Regions from separate parts of the Homo sapiens genome. Here region 1 is linked to region 2. Evidence: promoter capture Hi-C in 16 types of primary human blood cells and fetal thymus (Javierre and others, 2016). All regions are on one chromosome and are shown on one strand. Each heading gives the region's core, a stretch centred on a gene start or on the middle of the fragment in contact. The rest is flanking DNA. Distances are from core to core; before and after follow the strand shown. Region 1 overlaps EYS (eyes shut homolog). Region 2 holds the start of LGSN (lengsin, lens protein with glutamine synthetase domain).

Evidence for each region. Contacts are between HindIII fragments. The CHiCAGO score rates a contact against its expected background, and 5 or more counts as called.
Region 1: a fragment that was not itself captured here is called in contact with the fragment with the promoter of LGSN in region 2 in 6 of 17 cell types (M2 macrophages, naive CD4 T cells, M0 macrophages and 3 more); the score reaches 7.8 in M2 macrophages.

What each region holds. Positions count from the first base shown.
Region 1 is chr6:63,852,338-63,858,889 of GRCh38, forward strand. The region is part of intron 36 of EYS (eyes shut homolog); the gene reads right to left. It also overlaps the pseudogene GCNT1P4. Among named protein-coding and RNA genes, the nearest start is that of SCAT8, 49 kb to the left of the region's middle. The HindIII fragment of the contact is 1,089 bases long and covers 2,510-3,598 here.
Region 2 is chr6:63,314,439-63,321,996 of GRCh38, forward strand. LGSN (lengsin, lens protein with glutamine synthetase domain) reads right to left here and starts at 5,545. Exons shown (of 4, transcript NM_016571.3): 1 at 5,476-5,545. The coding sequence starts at 5,505. The HindIII fragment of the contact is 640 bases long and covers 5,129-5,768 here.

The sequences.
Region 1 (6,552 bases), core at 1,804-4,303, 540 kb after region 2:
AATACTATGAACACCTCTATGCAAATAAACTAGAAAATCTTTAAGAAATTGATAAATTCCTGGACACACACAGACACTCCCAAGTCTAAACCAGGAAGAAATCAAATCCCTGAATAGACCAATAACAAGTTCTGAAATTGAGACCATAATTAATAGCCTACCAACCAAAAAAAGCCCAGGACCAGATGAATTCACAGCTGAATTCTACCAGAGGTACAAAGAGGAGTTGGTACCATTCCTTCTGAAACTATTCTAAACAATAGAAGAAGAGGGTCTCCTCCCTAACACATTTTATGAGGCTAGCATCATCCTGATACCAAAACCTGGCAGAGACACAACAAAAAAAGAAAATTTCAGGCCAGTATCCCTGATGAACATCAATCCAAAAATCCTTAATAAAATACTAGCTAACTGAATCCAGTAGCACATCAAAAAGCTTATCTACCACGATCAAGTCGACTTCATCCCTGGGATGCAAGGGTGGTTCTACATATGCAAATCAATAAATGTAATCCATCACATAAACAGAACCAATAACAAAAAACCACATGATTATCCCTACAGATGCAGAAAAGGCCTTTGATAAAATTCAACACCCCTTCATGCTAAAAACACTCAATAAACTAGGTATTGATGGAACATATCTCAAAATAATAAGAGCTATTTATGACAAACCCATATTCAATGTATACTGAATGGGCAAAAGCTGGAAGCATTCCCTTTGAAAACTGGCATAAGACAAGGATGCCCTCTCTCACCACTCCTATTCAACATAGTATTGGAAGCTCTGGCCAGGGCAATAAGGCAAGAGAAAGAAATAATGGGTGTTCAAATAAGAAGAGAGGAAGTCAAATTGTCTCTGTTTGCAGATGACATGATTGTATATTTAGAAAACCCCATCGTCTCAGTCCAAAATCTCCTTAGGCTGATAAGCAACTTCAGCAAAGTCTCAGAACACAAAATCAATATGCAAAAATCACAAGAATTCCTATACGTCAATAATAGACACACATAGAGCCAAATCATGAGTGAATTGCCATTCACAATTGCTACAAAGAGAATGAAATACCTAGGAATATAACTGACAAAGGATGAGAAAGACCACTTCAAGGAGAACTACAAACCACTCTTCAAGGAAATAAGAGAGGACACAGACAAATGGAAAAACATTCCATGCTCATAGATAGGAAGAATCAATGTCGTGCAAATGGCCATACTGCCCAAAGTAATTTATAAATTCAATGCTATTCCTATCAAGCTACCATTGACTTTCTTCACAGAATTAGAAAAACCTACTTTAAATTTCATATGGAACCAAAAAAGAGCTCATATACCCAAGACAATCCTAAGCAAAAAGAACAAAGCTGGAGGCATCACACTACCTGACTTCAAACTATACTACAAGTTTACAGTAACCAAAACAGCATGGTACTGGTACCAAAACAGATATGTAGGCCAATGGAACAGAACAGAGGCCTCAGATATTACACCACAGATGTATAACCATCTGATCTTTGACAAACCTGACAAAAACAAGCAATGGGGAAAGGATTCCTTATTTAGTAAATGGTGCTGGGAAAACTGGCTAGTCATATGCAGAAAACTGAAACTGAAACAACAGTTGCTGGAGAGGATTTAGAGAAATAGGAATGCTTTTACACTGTTGGTGGGAGTGTAAATTAGTTTAACCTTGTGGAAGACAGTGTGGTGATTCCTCAAGGATCTAGAACTAGAAATACCACTTGACCCAGCAATCCTATTACTGGGTATATACCCAAAGGATTATAAATCATTCTACTATAAAGACACATGCATACCTATGTTCATTGCAGCACTATTCACAATAGCAAAGACTTGGAACCAAACCAAATGCCCATCAATGTTAGACTGGATAAAGAAAACGTGGCACATATATACCATGGAATACTATGTAGCCATAAAAAAGAATGAGTTCATGTCCTTTGTAGGGACATGGATGAAGCTGGAAACCATCATTCTCAGCAAACTAACACAGGAACAGAAAACCAAACTCCACATGTTCTCACTTATAATTGGGAGTTAACAATGAGAACACATGGACACAGGGAGGGGAACATTACACACCGAGGCCTATCAGGGGGTGGGTGGCAAGGGGAGGCATAGGATTAGCACAAATACCTAATGCAAGTGGGGCTTAAAACCTAGATGACAGGTTAATGGGTGCAGCAAACCACCATGGCACATGTATACCTATGTAACAAACCTGCATGTTCTGCACATGTATCCCAGAACTTAAAGTATAATAATAATTACAATAAAAAAGCCACTTCATTGTTTCCTCCATCAATCACAGCTAGTTGAAATTATATAATAAATTATGTATATAATATATGCTAAATCCCAAGCAGTTTAAGCATAATTTAACCATAATTTGAAATCAGTTACTTGAAATCAGTCCCATGAAATCAATAGAAGGAATAAAAATCTCAAATTATGTTTGGAAGATAATTGTCTAGATTAGTGGTCTCCAAGCTTGTTTAATCTTGCTTCACAGACATTATTTACTTAAAATTCTATACATCTTCTCATATAATGTAGACCTCATGAAACCCACAAAAAATAGAAATTAAAGGATCGAGATAAAAAGAGAATTAATATTTTCTTCCAATATCACAATGGAGTCTGTATACTCCACTCTGGGAACCATTAGACTGGTATACTCTTTGAAAGCCTTGTCATGTGAGAAAGAAGAATTCCTTGGTTTAATGCTGTTATTGCAGGAATTCTTAGAGTTTTTACTGTGCTACCGCACATGGTGAATTCCTGAAAGGGCAATAGAGTACTGTGTAGTGATCTAAAGAAAGACAAGTCAGAGATTCCAGATCTGGGTCTGCCACTCATGAACAATATCACTTTAGACTGGTTATTTAAACTCACTGAACTTCAGTTTTTCCATCTGTACAATGGCAATAATGATGTATCTCCTTGGGTTATTACACAGATTATATAAGAAGATGAATGTAAAGCACTTAGTCCAATGCCTAGCTTATGGGTATCTTATCGCACTAGTGTACTGTGAAAAATACTTCTGGAAATATTTCAGATTAGACTATTCACTCACTGATTATATTATTAAGATACTTTTTAAAATTTCACAAATACTTATGATTATCTCCTAAGTATAGGTGTAGTAGTAGGCTCAGGGCAACAGCATACATAGCTGAATATTCTGAAGGACTTTTAAATTATTTTTAACTCAGAAAAAAATTTCAGAACCTACCATGTGTCAGACACCATGTACTGCTCTGCAGATATGATGATGGCCGAGGCAGATAGGGTGTCTACCTTCATGAAACTTAGAGTATGAGGAAAGGACTGGTATGATTTATGGCCAGTGTTTACAAGGTAAATGCAAAATAGTTTAAAGAGTGTTCTGATAAAGGGTGAAGAAGATGGGGGCTATTGGGTTAGCTGAGGTCTGCCCATGCAAAACTTGCACATCATTTTAAACAGTTCTTACTTTATCCTAAGGAAAATAGGCCACTTTCAAGGTCAAAGGGATGAAGGGACAAAATATTAGAAAACACACAATATAAGCATGTCACTGAATATAAACAAAAGCTTGAACAAAATAACTTCACAGTTTTTCCTGTGGCAAAAATTTACTCAGACTCTAATTAATTTTTTGTTTCAGTGAAGTTTTTTTTTTTTTTTTTTATGTATCACAAATGTGTTTGTGCCTTCCGTTGCTTGCTAACTGGCAGGTGCATCACATTAACATAGCTCTTAAACCAACCAAGCAGAGCCTGATAGGTGTGGTGGGATCTGACAGTATTCATTTGATATGAAGCAATGACTCTTTGCTAAAGGGCCTGGACTGACAGACCTGCAAGGTAAAAGTCTCTGGTGAGCTTGAGAATAAACTACAGAGGTTTACTTTCCACACATGGTCTGCAAGACCAATTTGCCATAAGTATATTCAGGAGAGACCACTCTGCCTTCTGTGAATATATAGTCTCTCTATTTTAGACCTTTTTAAAAAGCAGGAAATGCTTCTGTCGGAAGGGAGAATTCTGTGAGGTTGCTAAATAATGACAAAGTGCTGGAATAAACAGAAAGGAGAACATTTGGCCTTGAGAGTTTAGTGTTCTACTGACAGTCAGTGTTCTGACAGAGGCAAACAGTCAGAGTTTGATAGTGAATAGTCTGTTCTCTGTGTAAAAGTGGACAATAACAGATGTGTAGCTCCCTAGGAATTGAGATGTAAAAATCTGCAAACTAATTTGGTTTCCATTTAGTGTAAGTAGAAACTGCCTCATGGAAATAGTTTTAAGATGAGAGGTAATGGTTCAAAAGAAATATATAAAATATCTTTTCTTATTATTTTGCTAACTTAGAAAAATATGGTTGTATATTTTTCTGCTTCCCATGATATTTCTTTGGATTAAAAAATTTTAACACAGTTTCACTGGATTGCAAAAATGTATTTTATAAACTTATAATTTATCAAATCTATTAGACTGAAATAAGATAAATATAATACAAGAAATCCTGGTTTTGTTTGAGAAGGAGTCTAAGAGTTTATGAACAAAATCAGATACACTTAATAAAACATATTGAAATATGTAGTTCAGGGAAATCTTGACACTTATATCACGATTAGATTTAGCTCCATATAACAGACAACTTATTAAAAAGCAGAGGTTTAAGCAAAATAAATTATTTCTGTCATTAACAGAAAGTTTCTTACTGAACATTTCCAGGCTAGTATGGTGGTTTTATAGTTAAGGATTTAAACTTCTTTCATCATTTTGCTTCACCATCTTAGCATGTATCTTTAATTCTCAAGGTGACTTCGTAGTCCGAGATGACTTCTGGAATTCAAGACATCTCATGGACATTCTAGACTTCAGAAAGAAGGAAGATTTGGAGGTCATGCTACTCTTCAAGAGATTTTCCAGAGGTCAATATAATACTCTAACACTTCTGCTTACATCTGATTTTCCAGAATTTAGTCCCATGGCCACATTTTAAGCTCTAAGGGAGGATAGGAAACTTAGCTGGGTACATTAGTGACCCACGTACAATCAAGAGTGCACTAATACAGTATTTGTATCTGTATGAGATGAGTATCTCTGGGCCAGTGTCCAGAGGATTCCCTGAAGTGCCCGGCTTACTCTTCAAAGCCATAAGTACTATTTCTCTGACATGCACGCAATTGCTAGCTCTGTCAAGTGGTAGAACTTTAAGTGTATGTTTCCTAGGGTGCTCCATGACCACCGTGTGATGGGGTCCACGTGTGCTCAGTGTGCATTTTCTGGAGCTGGAGACTTGAACTGGATGCTACTCAAGCACTACTTGTTTGCCAATAAGTTTGATGTGGATGTTGACCTTTTTGCCATCCAATGCTTTGATGAGCATCTGAGACATAAAACTTTGAAGACATTACAACACTGACAATTACAGGCAATTTTATGAATAATAAGGAGGATACACAAAAAATATCCTTATCTGGTTCCTCTTCCTTGTCAGCAAGCATCGGGAAAATGGTATGAAGTCCTCTTTGGGGTGGGGACTCTTAGTTTTCTTGTCAGAGAAGCTGCATGTTTTCTGCAGAACACCATTGGCTAGATATGTGATAGCATTAAATGTTCACCTAAATTTAACGTGAGGGGGAGTAAAAGTAGCCTTGAGGCCAGAGCAGGTAGCATTCTGGAAAGAGGGGACCAGGGTGCCTGGGGAAGAGGCCGATGCATAAGGTCAGCCTGTTCAAAGAGCTCAGGGACTTAGCAAAACGAGAAGATTTCACCTGTGCCAAAACTATTAAGAATTTTAAATGTGACAATTTTCCTGGTATCAATAAATTTATAGCAACAAACAACCATAAAGATACAATTGATCTGATATGTTGTATTGAAATAGAAATTTGATTTTACTGTAAATTATTTGGCTAGGCTGGTCTTGAACTCCTGACCTCAGGTGATCCACCCACCGCGGCTTCCCAAAGTACTAGGATTACAGGCGTGAGCCACCATGCCTGGCCCATCAAAGCTATTTTTTAAGAACTGAAATGTGTACACTGAAATACACATTTATAAGTGCTGCTTTTAAATATGTGCCAACCTAACTTTTTCTCTCTACAGATGCTGAAGTAGAGGGAAAAAGTGAAAGGCAGGAGGTGCTCACTTTTTCCCTGAGCAAGAGGAAAGGCAACTTCCCTCAGTTCTTATGGAATAAAAAGTGCAGGCCATTCAAAGTCTGCCTTCAACAGAGAGAAAGAGGAATCACTTTCTTGAGCACTTTTTTTCTCATTCCTGTCTCCTTGCTCCTGTCTGGGATTAGGCTTGACCTTTTAGTATTTCTTTGTAACAAGGAACTGGAAAATAAAGATTAAAACATGGTGGGAAATGAGGGATACTAAGATGTGTTGAACGGTGGGGCAATCAAACAGCTGTTGAGTTGGAGAGAGAAAGCTGGATCATATCAGAGTGGATGCTATCAAAAGAGTTATGAGCTTAACATGACAGAAAATTGCATGTTCTTGAAATATGCCATTACAAAATGTCAGCCTGA
Region 2 (7,558 bases), core at 4,295-6,794:
ATTTGTTATATTAGCCCAAACTGACTGAGACAAGGAAGGAAGAGAAAAAATGAGGAGGAAGAGGACTATTAGGAGGAGAAAGACAGAAAGCAAAGAATTGTTAACATTTCATGAGTGCCTTTCAGATGAGATAACTGAGCCTCAGGAAGATTTTCACCCAATAAATGGCAGAATTTCAATCTAAAACTGATTTTAAACCTTAATCTATCTTATCCATTCTGGATAAGAAAAGGTGGAGGGTTGTGATGCTTCCAATTTTCCCTTTAGGGTAAGAAGTGTTCAGATAGAGTAGGAATATGGAAGACTAAAGGCTTAAGGAGAATGGAAATTGTTTCACATAGTTATAGTGGAAACTGAGAAAGAGCCGACTCAAGAAAGAAAAATATCAAGGGCCCAGAAAGAATTGGAGGTTTTAAAGTTTAAAGTGACACCAATCTGCACAGGTAATTATTTTCTCTAGCAAAGCTCAGCTGGAAATGTGAAGACACCATGGTTTAAGGTTTCATGAGGTCACAAACTCAGAAGGACAATGACAAAAATAAGTTGAGGATTTGGGCAAGGAAGATGCTAAAATAATGGGATATGGAATCCAAGACAGATGGGATAAGAAGTCAAGTCAGGAAAGGATGACAAGAAGAACATGTCAAAGACTGAAGATTCTTAGAAGGTGGCATTTAGATGTATCCTTGTGCCTAACATATTGCCTAGCATAAAGTAGTAATTGAGTAAATAATTTCTAATTAATTAATTATAACCAAGACCTACCATGTTGAAGTATAAGGCCAGAAAGGACATTTGACTCAGACTTCTCCTTTATAAAAGATTCTAAATGAGACTTCTTTGGATGTCAGCAAGACCTGATGGTAACCCACTAGGATGATTCAGTCAAAACAGCTTTCCTAGATAAAATATGGCATGGACTTCTTCAAAGTTTTCTCTAGAAGGGCTTAGACCTGTGCTTCTTTACTTAGATGGGCTTGTGCTAGTGAAAGCCTGCTCTACAATGCCTCTGTAGCTTTACTCTATAAATTTTACCTTTTCTTTAGGGTTTTTTCACAGTAGTTACCCTCAATATCAGGCCTTTTCACCACGGTTATGATTACCCCACTTAAGATACTGAGAAAACATTATTTCTCTTGCTTTTCTGAAGAATAGCTAAAATGTTCTCTCTCTCTCTCTCTGTGTGTGTGTGTGTGTGTGTGTGTGTGTGTGTGTGTATGCATGCTCTCACTCTCTATATATCTATATAAATATATAGATATATATTTCAGTGAGGCAACTGAGGATCTGATAAATGCAGCAACTTGACTGGCTTCATAGCTAGAACATAGCAGAATTCAAATATGTGTGGTTTACAACTCTTATTTCATCTCTTCATGCTACTTACAAACTTTATATGTGACAAAATACAGAAAACTAAGGAAATCCAGGTCTTAAAAAAAAAAAAAACTCCACATTTCAAGTGAGAGTTCAATAGTATCTCTATCTTTTGAAGTAAAACAAAGCACAGAAGGAAAATCCAGATAAATTGCTTGGAATTTGCAATGAATCAGAATTTTACTTAATATAATAAGCCCAAAATGGAATGGGTTATTTGTCAAAGTGTTGAGTTTCTCATCTCCAAGCACATTTGTGGGGAGATTAGCCAAATGTCAGGGTCAACCTGGTTAATTTCCACTTCTACAATCAAATTTTCACTTTCTAACTGTTTAATCCTCACCACTTTTACAAGATAATAACCTAGACCTAAGTTGGCAGATTAGGTGGAACATTCATATGTGACCGAGAATGATAGAGCAACGATCATTACTGAGAGCTCTGTGTGAAAGAAGTATCAGAATGTAAATGATATAGCTGCTCCCATATGAAAAGCTATGAGTCTCGTTTTTATTTCTAACAAATTGGCTAATAGTCAACAGTGTGTATCAACCCATAAACAAATCTCACCTCTGTGGGCAAGTTATGCAAAATCTACAATAGAAGTTCTACACAAGAAAAATATACCTAACCAAACATTTTCAGAGAAGGAAAAACATAATTTTACAAAGGTCTAACACCATGTGATTTTGATAATATGAAGCTAAATAATAAAGAACACTAAAATAATAAAGGAAGCAAAAAGTTTTGTTTTATTTAGTATGTTCATAATTAAATCAAAGAAGAATTCTCCATATTTTTTAGAGAAATTAAGATCGTATGGCTAAAAATATATTTATCCATGTAGACAGGACAAAAATAATTTGTGAAGGCTTTGTGGGTGAGCAGAAAAGCAACAAAAATATTTCAAAGGTAAAAAGACATGTAGAAAAAATTTAAATATTCATGTATATATAATATATATTTATGATAATGGGCTCTGTAATATAGTATGAAAAAAGATCCAAGAATGTTATGGAACTGTTCGTGAAGATATCAGCTAATGGGCTGCTGCAGCATATAAAAATACTGCAAATATGAATATAAAAATACTTTAAATGTGAGAGGGGAAGGTGCTCTACCCTTTAAAAAAATTATGATATGCCTGTAACTGATTGCTAAAAATAGTTCTAGTCATTGTGCCTTAGGAAAGCCTTAATAGGCTAGAAGTGGATGGATATATGTTTATGTAAAAAGGTATATTATATATAATTGTTATCATTACTATCATAAGCAAACAAATTCTATCATGTAAAGGAAAACATGTAAAACTCTTTAAGGCTGTAAAAATGAAAACAGGAGAGCTATTAGAGGTCAACATAACATAATAAAGTATATGTAATGAATGACTCCTTTTTAATGAGTTCTCACTATATTGTAAGCACAGTTCTAAGCACTTTACATGTATTAACTCATTTAATCTCCACAAAATCCCTTCCTGTAGGCACTATTAATGTCCCAGTGAGGTACAGAGAAGTCCAATACTTTGCCCCATGTCACACAGCTAGTAAGTAGCAGAGCCAAGATTAAAATGCAGGCATTCTCATTTCAGGAAGTGCGAGCTTAATCCACTGCCCTTGAAACTCAAATCTAATTTTTGTCTTGTCTCTCCACTGAGAATTCTTAAATGGAGAGCTAGTTGATACACTGGAAGTAGGTAAGTTTGAGGTAAATAATTATAAAATGAACTATAAACCTTGAAATCTTCAGAAGACAAATCTTCTGAATTCTCAGAGACAAAACAAATGGAAAATACAAAACAAGAATCAGGAGGTCTCTAGAGTCACACAGACAATAGCATAAAGCAGGGAAAGCTGGGGTAGGTAAATCTCTAGCCTCTTGAAGCAAGCCTCTAGAAGGTCAGGTAGAGCCTCCCATGGGGCTGCACTTCATGCCCCCAACAGATACAGGCTGCAGAGCAGGATGAGTCTCTGACTTCACCCCAGATGGCATTCATTCCTTCTGTGATATGGAAACGTCAGAACTGTGTCTACCTGTGTCAGTGTTCTCTGTATTGAGTTATAAATATCTGCAGGGTGGGGAACAGATCTTACTCACTTGACATATTACCCAGCTCAGCACCACACACAAGGTTCTTGATAAACAGATTTTAATTGTTATGATATGCCACTCTTTCACTCAATTTCACAATTTCATACACCCATAGGATCTACTTTAAGAAGTAAGAATGTGTTTTCAATCTATTTTTTGTCTGCCACTGCTAAGAATGTAGCTGAATGCATGACTTTACAGCATTGTTTTAAATAGAGAATCTCAGTAAAATATTCTTTAGGGGAGTACCAAACCTAAGATTAATAACTGTTCATTTTACTGAATATTCTGACAAAGAATTTCTTCAGACTGGGGAAGTAAGTATTCTGAGGGATTTTCTCCATATACACAATCTGCCCTTCGGAATCCACTGAGCTTTTGTTCAGCTGCTGTGTTTTGTAGTTAACTTCATGCTGCTCTTGCTCACATTACCAGAGCATCTAGCATGAAACACAGTCTTGTCCTTTTCCAAACATCTGTTAGCTGGAAAAGGAATGTCACATGTCATCTCTCTCCCTCCTTCCATATTCTTTCACTTCCTGAGAATGCGAACCTATACAGGAGAGTATAAAAGAGCTTATTCAGTGGAGTTGGGTCAAGTGGCCAGCCAAGATTCACCTTTATTACATCTAGTAAATACAATGCTCTATTCCAACTTTGAGGGAACTTTTCCTCAAAAGACAGAGAATGTCTCTTGCTGTGAGAATTGTGCAGTTTAAAAATCATATTGTTCATTTTTCTGCTCTCCTAAGAGTAAACAATCAACATTTGGTCTAGACTGGTCTTGAGGAGGGCATGGCTTTTAAGGACTTTCATGGGAGCTGTATCACCTGGAATCCTGGACTAAAATTGTGGGAGCTGGGGAAGAAAGCAGAGTTCTGCCATGGGATCAGAAGTAGTAAGTAAAACTAGTCCAAGAAGTTACATAGTTAGAAATCAAAATCCCAAAAAGCTAATGATGTATATGCTAATTACCTTTACTTTCTTTCTATAAGCCTTCCTTTGCAGCTATGAATTTACTTTTAGCTAAATTCATTATAATCACATAAACATGTCCACCATTTGATGCCTACAACAGTGACATGACAGTACAGGATAAGCCACAGCTCCTCCTCAGGGAGTGCCTTCTTCACATAGCCTTGCCCAGTTTCCCTTAGGGAAAGTGCATTTGTTCTTGACTCTATTTCAAAACAACTGCTTGTATTCACTATACAGATCAGTGAACCCATTCTTAGATGTTAGCTATCTTCTCCACTACATGCAAAAGTGGGGACCAGGTTTGTTCTCTATATGCCACTATTTCATACATAATGCACTGGTCTTCCACTGCACTCTTCACATAGTAGGTATGCTTCTTGCATTATATTTTCTTAACCTACTAAAGATAACTCACATCCTCCCAAATTTTACCACAGCTTGCCTCCAAGTCTGCACTTCAGTCTTTCAGAATGGTCAGTCAGAAATACAAGAGTGAAGGTTGGGTACACACACATTAAGAAGTGAGGAGAAATGTTATATGTTGACAACTGATTATTTTAATATATGCTAGACCCTATAAGTGGCTATCATTATTCATGCTGTGCATTTCAAATATAATTTGAAAACAGGTTTCCACCTTTAGTCATTTAATCTCAAAGCATATTTATTAGAAAGAGGCCAAAGCTTTGAGAAAAACAAAGATTATTCTCTCAATAACAACCAAAATAGAAATAAATTTTTTTATAGCATACTTATGCTTCTGAAACTCAGTGCCTATTGAACTTAAATGATTATTCAAACCAAATGAGCTTTCCTAGATGAATATTTTGAATTGTTTAGTTTTTATTATCTTTATAAATTCACTGTGTAGTACAGAAGGGCAATTCTTCATAAACTTCTCCTGAGTGGACATATAACAAGTATAATTATGCTGCCCTTATTCTTACTGGCATTCAAATAATTGACATTTTTTAAAAAGATTTACTGTCAATATTTTGGTTAAAAACATTTTAATGATTAGCTTCATACCTCCTGCAGAAGGTCCTCTTCATTATTCATCTCAACACTTTTTAAGTTCAGCGTTAGAAACCACAATATCCTCAACAAATGCATTCAACATGTATTTATATGTGTACCTACAACAAAGACTGCAGATGATGAATTCCATAGAGGCTTTTCCAGAGGGGTCTGGCAGGTAATAAAAGATAAACATCAGATTCTGATGTGTCATGCCCAAGGCACAGTATGCTGGAAATGCACTAGAAGAATCGAATGACAAATGCTTGTTTACGCCTGACTCCCTGCAAACAAAAGACATACAAAGCTTAAAATTGTGTTGGTTGATTTTTTTCTCCAACATACAGAATTTTTGTTACATAACAATTGTATTCTGGAATGATATCTATTGTCAGATTCAGATGATGAAACACTTATTAGACGACTATGCTATCAAAGCCCACAGACAAAAGCACAGATGGAAAAATACAGCTATAAGTGACCCAGATTTTTACCAATGGCAAAGATCCACTCATTTGTAATTCTCATTTTTATTTTCTTTTCTAGGTCCCTCTGGCCTCCAAATTAATTCTGGACCTTCATTATAAAACTGAAATATCTTTCTTTAGCTTTTCCAATTCTCCGATGTCAGTCTGTGACAAATCCCAGACCATCCCCACTGTGCACAATGAACACAGAATCATCTACAGGCTGCCCCATATGGTCCCATAAACAATCCTAACTCAGTAGAGGAAATAGGGAATGCTTTCTCTTCACTAGTAAAGGGGGTTTGAAATCACACTTCTGCTGCTATCAACTCAACTTCAAGTATTGTTGATGAAGGAGGATATGCAGTTTCTTCTGAACCAAACCAAATTCTCTCTAAGCATTTTCCATGTGGAAGTGTATAGTCTCCATGGCTAATCACTTCTTCCTGGTCTTCTGGGCCTGAGGAAGACCAAGCCAATACTTACAACCACTCAATCCTGCCTGACTCTCTTGGCCCATTTCAAAAGCCCCATTTCCTAAAGACAGTGATTAACTATTCCTATTTCCATTCCATTGGTACTTGTTCCATGACTGACTCTAAAGCTTCTGCTCTGTGTAGCCTGATCTACAACCAGATCTTGAATTTGGACCTAGTTCTGATGCTGATGCCAGCCTGAAACTGCATCCTGAATATGGCTGTTTTGGACTCTTGAACCTCCCCAAGAAAAGGGATTCTATCTCCTATCCTAGTATTTGACTTGCTCTTGGTGCTTTCCCCCAGATCTCTAGTAGGGTGTTTAATTCCCACAATGTCTTGTACCAGAGCCTTACCTAAGTTTTTCTCAATCCTCTTCTGAGACCACATTTGCTTCCACTTTTACAACTTTTTCTTGCATGTGCTTGTCTCCATGCAAAACAGGTGCCATTGAGCTATGGAAAAAAATGTTTTGTGAAAAATTTCGTTTTTGTTTCAGAAATGTTCCCTTTCCTATATCAAAGAAAAGAACTCCAAGCTGGTTTACATGTTCAGTTACATATTGGGACATGTTTTAAAAAAATCATTCCTTTATAGTACTACTTACCCAAATTTTCTCCTGGGAGTTTTATTGTTATTGAATATGCAATTTGATTCATTTCATCTTCTTTTCCTTACCTTATTTTGACAATCTCTTCTTCTCAATGTGTATCCATGATTTTTTTATAATATCCTTTCCTGAACCTTGATTTGCCCATTTTTGTAAAAAGTGTTCTAAAGCTTGGTTGGACATATGGTGTATAACCTAATTTATGGTATTAGCATGATACATATTTTAAAAGTATTACCATTATTTAGAATCAGTTTTTCCAAAGGAAAAACCAAATGTCAGTAAAGGGCTTAACAAATAGATTAGAAAAATAATAAATGGTCAATAAGTCCATATTAAACACTTTCATTCACAAGCATTTGTTCAATCTGTACTATATCCAGAAAGCTATCTTAGTCAAAATGAATATAGTCATTGAGCCATGAATGTAAATGATACAAGTCTTTCTCTTACCACTCTTCTGAGACAACATATGGAAAGACCGTTCAACTCAAGTACTTCTCCTGCCAAAAAGTTGTAATCTAATTGAATGGATCCAGAGA